Linked DNA regions of Homo sapiens: region 1 is linked to region 2. Evidence: promoter capture Hi-C in human tissues and cell types (Jung and others, 2019). All regions are on one chromosome and are shown on one strand. Each heading gives the region's core, a stretch centred on a gene start or on the middle of the fragment in contact. The rest is flanking DNA. Distances are from core to core; before and after follow the strand shown. Region 1 has its middle 4.3 kb from the start of OR51D1. Region 2 holds the start of OR52I1 (olfactory receptor family 52 subfamily I member 1).

Region 1 (4,059 bases), core at 930-3,429, 39 kb after region 2:
GTTTTTGTTTTTTTGGTCCAAAATAAAACCTCAGCTAGCTCTGCCAAAAAAAAAAGAAAAAGAAAAAAAGAAAAAAGAAAAAAAAAAAAAACCCATTGTCTCAGCCCCAAAACTCCTTAAGCTGATAAGCAACTTCAGCAAAGTCTCAGAATACAAAATCAATGTGCAAAAATCACTAGCATTCCTATACACCAATAATAGACAAACAGAGAGCCAAATCATGAGTGAACTCCCATTCACAATTGCTACAAGGAGAATAAAATACCTAGGAATACAACTTACAAGGAACCTGAAGGACCTCTTCAAGGAGAGCTACAAACCACTGCTCAAGGAAATGAGAGAGGACACAAACAAATGGAAAAAAATTCTATGCTCATGGATAGGAAGAATCAATATTGTGAAAATGGCCACACTGCCCGAAGTAATTTATAGATTCAATGCTATTCCCATCAAGCTAACTTTGACTTTCTTCACAGAACTAGAAAAACTACTTTAAATTTCATATGGAGCCAAAAAAGAACCTGTATAGCCAAGGCAATCCTAAGCAAAAAGAATAAAGCTGGAGGCTTCATGCTACCTGACTTCAAACTATACTACAAGGCTATAGTAACCAAAAGAGCATGGTACTGGTACCAAAACAGGTATATAGACCAAAGGAACAGAACGGAGGCCATAGAAATAACACTACACATCTACAACCATCTGATCTTTGACAAACCTGACAAAAACAAGCAATGGGGAAATGATTCCCTATTTAATAAATGGTACTGGGAAAACTGGCTAGCCATATGCAGAAAACTGAAACTGGACCCCTTCTTTACACCTTATACAAAAATTAACTCAAGATGGATTAAAGACTTAAATGTAAAACCCCAAACCATAAAAACCCTAGAAGAAAACCTAGGCAATACCATTCCAGACATAGGCATGGGCGAAGACTTCATGACTAAAACACAAAAGGCAATGGCAACAAAAGCCAAAATTGACAAATGGGATCTAATTAAACTAAAGAGCTTCTGCACAGCAAAAGAAACTATCATTACAGTGAACAGGCAACCTACAGAATAAGAGAAAATTTTTACAATCTATCCATTTGACAAAGTCTAATATCCAGAATCTACAAGGAACTTAAACAAATTTACAAGAAAAAACAACCCCATCAAAAAGTGGACAAAAGATATGAATGGACACTTTTCAAAAGAAGGCATTTATGTGGCCAATAAACATATGAAAAAAAGCTCATCATCTCTGGTCATTAGAGAAATGCAAATCAAGACCACAATGAGATACCATCTCACACCAGTTAGAATGGTGATCATTAAAAAGTCAGGAAACAACAGATGCTGGAGAGCATGTGGAACACTTTTACACTGTTGATGGGAGTGTAAATTAGTTTAACCATTGTAGAAGACAGTGTGGCCATTCCTTAAGGATCTAGAACCAGAAATACCATTTGACCCAGCAATCTCATTACTGGGTATATACCCAAAGGATTATAAATCATTCTACTATAAAGACACATGCACATGTATGTTTATTGCAGTGCTGTTCACAATAGCAAACACTTGGAACCAACCCAAGTGCCCATCAATGATAGACTGGATAAAGAAAATATGGCACATGTACACCATGGAATACTATGCAGCCATAAAAAAGAATGAGTTCATGTCCTTTGCAGGGACATGGATGAAGCTGGAATCCATCATTCTCAGCAAACTAACATAGGAACAGAAAACCAAACACTGCATATTCTCACTCATAAGTGGCAGTTGATCAATGGGAACACATGGACACAGGGAGGGGAACATCATTCACCCGGGCATGTCAGTGGGCGAGGGGCAAGGGGAGGGAAAACATTAGGACAAATACCTAATGCATGTGGGACTTAAAATCTGGATAATGGTTGATAGATGCAGCAAGCCACCATGGCACATGTATACCTATGTAACAAACCTGCATGTTCTGCACATGTATCCCAAAACTTAAAATTTAATAAAAAAAAACTACTAAACTATTTTCCGGAGTAGTTGTGCCATTTTACATTCTCGCCTGCAATGCATTAGAGGTTGTTTCTCTGCATCTTCACTAGCATTTGGAGATATGCCATGCTCACTTATTTATAAAATAAAAGATCTATTTCTAGATAATTCCTAATGAAATTTATAAACTGCAAGTGAAAAAAAAAACTATCTGGCATGCATCTAGACAGATATACCTACAGAGGAAAGCTAAATCATACTGGCTGGCATGTAAGCTCCACAAAAGCAGGAGAGTTTGTCTGTTCTGTTCATTAAAGTGTTTCCATCACTTAGAAGAGTACCTGTCATATATTAGGCACTCAATAAATATTCATGGATGAATTAACTGCATTAAGAAGTCAATCTTTACTTGAGGTCATAAAAATATTCTTTTATATTACTTCAGGAAGGCTAATTGCTTTGCCTTTTGTACTTATATATGAAAACCACAAAGATTTAATTCTTATAAGTAGTGTGAATTTAGGGTTCAAATTTTATTTTCTTCTATATGGATATTCAGTTATTGTAGTATCATTTAATAAAAAAATTCTCCTTTTCTGATTGCCTCACAGAATTACCTTTGTCATTTAACAACTGGCTGTGTATGAGTGGGCATACTTCTGAAATTTTATTTCCATTCATTGGCTCAACTGTCTATCCCTGAACAAATACCACATATGCATAATTACTATAGTTTTTAAATTTTTGATATTTAGTATATAAAATCTCACTTTGTCCTATTCTTCTAGAGTTTTGTGGCTAATTTTGGCAATTTACATTTTTATGTATATTTTAATCAAGCTTACCAAATTTTACACAATCACCAATTAGGATATTATTGGGAATGTATTGATTCTATGGAAAAATTTGGGGGCTAAGTAGATTCTTCACATTATCGAGTTTTCCAGTTAAAAAGAATAGTGTTTTCTTCCATTTATTTAGGTCTTCTTCAGTGTCTTTTAAGGATGCTTTGTGGTTTTCTGTGCAGAAATTCCTCTACATTCTTTGTTAGATTCACTCTTAGACATCTGATTTTTCTGTTATTGTAAATGCTTAAAAATTTTATAAAGAAATACAGTGGAATTTTGTAAGTTGACCTTGTATTCAGCAATCTTTACATACTCATTTCTAATAACTTATCAATACAGTCTTTTGGATTTTCTACATATACAATCACTAATCTACAAATAATGACTAATTTCATTTTCTAACTCTCATATCATGTTTCTTTTTCTTGCTTTATAACAGGTTATTAACACAAGGAATCATTTTTATCTTTAGGTACCATTACACTCTTTCTTTTCATGGGAGGTTGTAGGGATTTGTGTGTGACACACATATCATTATCTCGTAACAAAAAACAATGGCATTGGTCATCTAAAAATGAAATTTGGATACTAAAGAAACAAGAAAACATCTTACAGGAAAGACCTTCTTATAGAAATAGCACCTAAAACAGAATCTAAATAAATGTTAGTTTTTAGAGGAGGGAAACAAAGAGGTTGACCATTCCAGATAAAACAAGCATTTGAGCAAATGCTTAGAAGAAGGTGTACAGATAGAGAACTTTATTTAAGGAACTAGAAAGATGCCAATGCAGGGCCGTATTGAGGGAGAGTTGAGGTGTCATGAGATGGGGCTGTCGAATTAGGCAAGTTCATATCTTTTAGGACCTCCTAAGCCATGAGTATATGTTTGGCCAAAGCTCTCCGTTATCCATTGGACCTTTAGCATTCCATTTACATTGAGTGATTTTTCCTCCCTTCTTTCCTTCAAAAAATATTGAAATATAAGTAGAGGGAAAACTATTATTTTTAAAGTCATACTTTGGGTCACCTTAATAAGATCTATTCTTAATACTGTAAAAAGAGAAAAAAAAATGAATGCTTGAAAAGTGCCTGTGGAAATTACGCCAACTAGGTACATAATGTTATTAATATTAATAATAATTTAAGCGGCCTGCCCATTAAACATGCCTCAGTTGAAGTCATAGAGTTGTGAGGTATGAGTGCAGATCAACAAGACCAATAATTTCTGCCTT
Region 2 (4,189 bases), core at 230-2,729:
CTTGTAAGGAGTCTTCTCAGATGGCAGGGAAAATGTGCCTATGACCAAACACCATATGAATATGAAATCATGGAAACCAATCATCCTAAGGAGAGAGTAACTAAACAGCTATCACACAGGAATAGAATGGTAGTTAATGCTGACTTCTTTATATTCAGGTTTCCCCACTTAGATTGTTACATATTATATGATATGGTAACACCTGAATGAGGCAATGGAGGGTGAATACATCAATAAACAGAGATGAACAAGTGGTAGAGCTCAGCTGCTGGCTGTGCACAGCAGTAGCTATCTTTGTCTCATCAAACGTGGCCAAGTGAAACCCCTAACCTTGTTTTATCCATAGTTGTCTTGTTGACTATTTATGTTGGGCTGGATGGACACCTGGGAGTCATAGCTTAAACCCAAAACTTACCACACACGTACTACATGATCTTGGCTAGAATATTTAATCTAAGTTATACAAACTGTGTTGTATGGAATGGATGTTTGTCTTATATTACAAATGGAGAAATACACTCAGATTATGAATACTACACTTTTAACATAGTACTGGCACATACTGTGTTAATAATAAAGTGCTTAACTTTCTAAAGGATAAAGCTTTCTTGTTTGGAACATCTTGGTTATCAGGAAGAGGGAGTTAGTTGTATTAAAGAACCATAACAACTTATTGGGGAGGGGGGGTCATCTATAAGGTAACCCTAAGATTTTCCTTGTAGTAATTTAATCTATTAACTGAACCAAAGTGAATAGGATCCAGGGTAAATTTAGAGAAGGTAAGGATTATATTTATTTATAGATAATTTATAATCACCTGTAAAATGTGATAATGTTATTCTCTAATGGTTTTATTTTACTGAACTTACTAACGTACTTCATGAATCACAAGAATGCTGAATTTATGTTTTGTCTATGCAATATGCTGAGCATATAAAATGTGATGTTTGTTTTCAAGAAGTTCTGGTTTCAACATTTAGTAACAGCACACAGAGATAAGTCATTCTTTCCTCTGTTAATCGTTCTTTCTGTGGAAATTGTTTACTGTAATGAGTATATATATCTTCACTCAAGTGACTTGTGACCACAGCTATGGATCACAATCTTCCTATAAGGCACTTGAGTGAATACCATAAACTCATACAGTACTGGAATTGTCGATTTAGTCCCTACAGGAGATTTCAGGAAACTGCAAAAGAGGTAATTAACTTAACCTGGGCATGGGGTTGGGTGAGGAAGAGAGCAGAACACAAGTCCCTAAGGAAGGAATTCACGAGCTGATCCTTCAACAATGAATAGAAACTTGTAAGGAGGATGAAAAGTAGCACAGTATTAGAAGTCATTTTTCTGATCCTGCCATACCACCAAGCTGAGAATATCCCTAGGTTTTCCCAGCACCACAAAGAGGAACTAATCTTATAGGACTGCACCATTCTCTTACATCATCTATACATTAATAGGCAAGAAGTCTCACCTGTGATGCTGGGTCCAGCTTACAACCACACAATGGAAACCCCTGCCTCCTTCCTCCTTGTGGGTATCCCAGGACTGCAATCTTCACATCTTTGGCTGGCTATCTCACTGAGTGCCATGTACATCACAGCCCTGTTAGGAAACACCCTCATCGTGACTGCAATCTGGATGGATTCCACTCGGCATGAGCCCATGTATTGCTTTCTGTGTGTTCTGGCTGCTGTGGACATTGTTATGGCCTCCTCCGTGGTACCCAAGATGGTGAGCATCTTCTGCTCGGGAGACAGCTCCATCAGCTTTAGTGCTTGTTTCACTCAGATGTTTTTTGTCCACTTAGCCACAGCTGTGGAGACGGGGCTGCTGCTGACCATGGCTTTTGACCGCTATGTAGCCATCTGCAAGCCTCTACACTACAAGAGAATTCTCACGCCTCAAGTGATGCTGGGAATGAGTATGGCCGTCACCATCAGAGCTGTCACATTCATGACTCCACTGAGTTGGATGATGAATCATCTACCTTTCTGTGGCTCCAATGTGGTTGTCCACTCCTACTGTAAGCACATAGCTTTGGCCAGGTTAGCATGTGCTGACCCCGTGCCCAGCAGTCTCTACAGTCTGATTGGTTCCTCTCTTATGGTGGGCTCTGATGTGGCCTTCATTGCTGCCTCCTATATCTTAATTCTCAGGGCAGTATTTGATCTCTCCTCAAAGACTGCTCAGTTGAAAGCATTAAGCACATGTGGCTCCCATGTGGGGGTTATGGCTTTGTACTATCTACCTGGGATGGCATCCATCTATGCGGCCTGGTTGGGGCAGGATATAGTGCCCTTGCACACCCAAGTGCTGCTAGCTGACCTGTACGTGATCATCCCAGCCACTTTAAATCCCATCATCTATGGCATGAGGACCAAACAATTGCTGGAGGGAATATGGAGTTATCTGATGCACTTCCTCTTTGACCACTCCAACCTGGGTTCATGAACACAATATCTGTTCAGATCCAGAGCATTCTAGCCAACTTCAAAGATGCCTCAGAGATCTGTGGAGCTGGATTGGTTTACCTGGTACTATAAGGAAATCTGAGATGAAGCTATAAAGGATATCTTTGTGTAACTTTTAAATTTCTACCAATAATATGAATGAAATGTTTCTAATTTTCTGACATTTTTAATGGGTTAATATGATAGTGTCTGAATCAGAGTAAGTTTGGTATAGAATACAGCTCTGTAATTTTTCCTTCTATAGCTTCTGACCTATATTTCCTACCTAATATCCTACCATCCCCTCTGCTGAAGAGACCAACTGTTTGGTATCTTCCCCTTAACCTGACTGATATTCTCAGAACTGTTCTTTCCTCCAAGTGATTACATGGAAGAAGCTATTAATATATGACCCTGCCCTCTGGCCCAATAGTGATCTCACTCCATTTGGGTCCTAATGCCCACACCTAGACCAGGGTCCTTCCCAAGCTGTATGGTCTACTGTTCATCTGGGGAGATATAAACTTGGGATCAGAGATGGTGGTAATTCTACAACACATAAACTGGAAGGAGAAAATTGGGATTGGCCCATGCATCAAAAGCCAATCACCAAGAACGGATGAAGAGAATAAGTCCTTGGTTCTCTGATTCCAAATCACTTTGGACACCCAGGTATATTGTTATGTTCTGTAAAATACCACTTAACTTTTAAATGTATCTCCTATTGTTAAGCTAGTTGGAGTTAGTGAACCAATTACCAGCTTTTTGTTTTTAAGCAACAGAAGCTAAGTTAATATAAGTTTGGTTTTGGAAATCTTTCTTGTTGCTTCCTAGTCCCAGTCCGTGTAACTTAACCTTAAGGCATAAAAGAAAGGGATCAAATATACACAGGTCTTTCTTCTTGTGGGCACCTCTCAGGGGGTGTGCTCTGTGATGAAGAGGCTAATAGAAAACAATGTAGATAAAGAAGTTGACAATAGCAAAGACTTGGAACCAACCCAAATGTCCAACAATGATAGACTGGATTAAGAAAATGTGGCACATAGACACCATGGAATACTACGTAGCCATAAAAAAATGATGAGTTCATGTCCTTTGTAGGGACATGGATGAAGCTGGAAACCATCATTCTCAGCAAACTATCACGAGGACAGAAAACCAAACACCGCATGTTCTTACTCATAGGTGGGAACTGAACAATGAGAACACATGGACACAGGAAGGGGAACATCACACACCAGGGCCTGTTGTGGGGTGGGGGGAAGGGGGAGGGATGGCATTAGGAGATATACCTAATGTTAAATGACGAGTTGATGGGTGCAGCACACCAACATGGCACATGTATACATATGTAACAAACCTGCACATTGTGCACATGTACCCTAAAACTTAAAGTATAATAAAAAAAAAAAAAAAAAAAGGAAGTTGAAATGTAATCACTCTTCTCCAGGTCACTGGATGCTTCCATGATTTTTGGTTTTGTTTTTCCCCTTCAGAAAATCTTGAACTGAGTAATCAGTATACGTTAAAAGAAAAAGATCTTATATATAAGAGATATGTACATTTGAAAATCTTAATAAAAAGATAATTTCCTACTAGTGTTAAAATTAAAGTGCGAGAGGAAACTGTTAACAGCAAGCTACTATATCTGAGTCTTAACACTTCCTGTCTACTGAAAAACAACATTAATTCAGAGTATTAAAAATTAAATAAAACATGGAAAGCAGATAACACAA

The links. The method cuts DNA at HindIII sites, captures the fragments that hold promoters and counts their contacts. A contact is called where the count stands out against the background at its distance.
Region 1: a contact is called between a fragment that was not itself captured here and the fragment with the promoter of OR52I1 in region 2, in 1 of the 25 tissues and cell types used here (adrenal gland).

What each region holds. Positions count from the first base shown.
Region 1 is chr11:4,631,127-4,635,185 of GRCh38, forward strand. No RefSeq gene overlaps it. Among named protein-coding and RNA genes, the nearest start is that of OR51D1, 4.3 kb to the right of the region's middle. The HindIII fragment of the contact is 5,020 bases long and covers 1-4,059 here.
Region 2 is chr11:4,592,560-4,596,748 of GRCh38, forward strand. OR52I1 (olfactory receptor family 52 subfamily I member 1) reads left to right here and starts at 1,480. Exons shown (of 1, transcript NM_001005169.1): 1 at 1,480-2,454. The coding sequence starts at 1,480. The coding sequence ends at 2,454. OR52I2 (olfactory receptor family 52 subfamily I member 2) reads left to right here. Exons shown (of 2, transcript NM_001405760.1): 2 at 1-781. The HindIII fragment of the contact is 5,548 bases long and covers 1-4,189 here.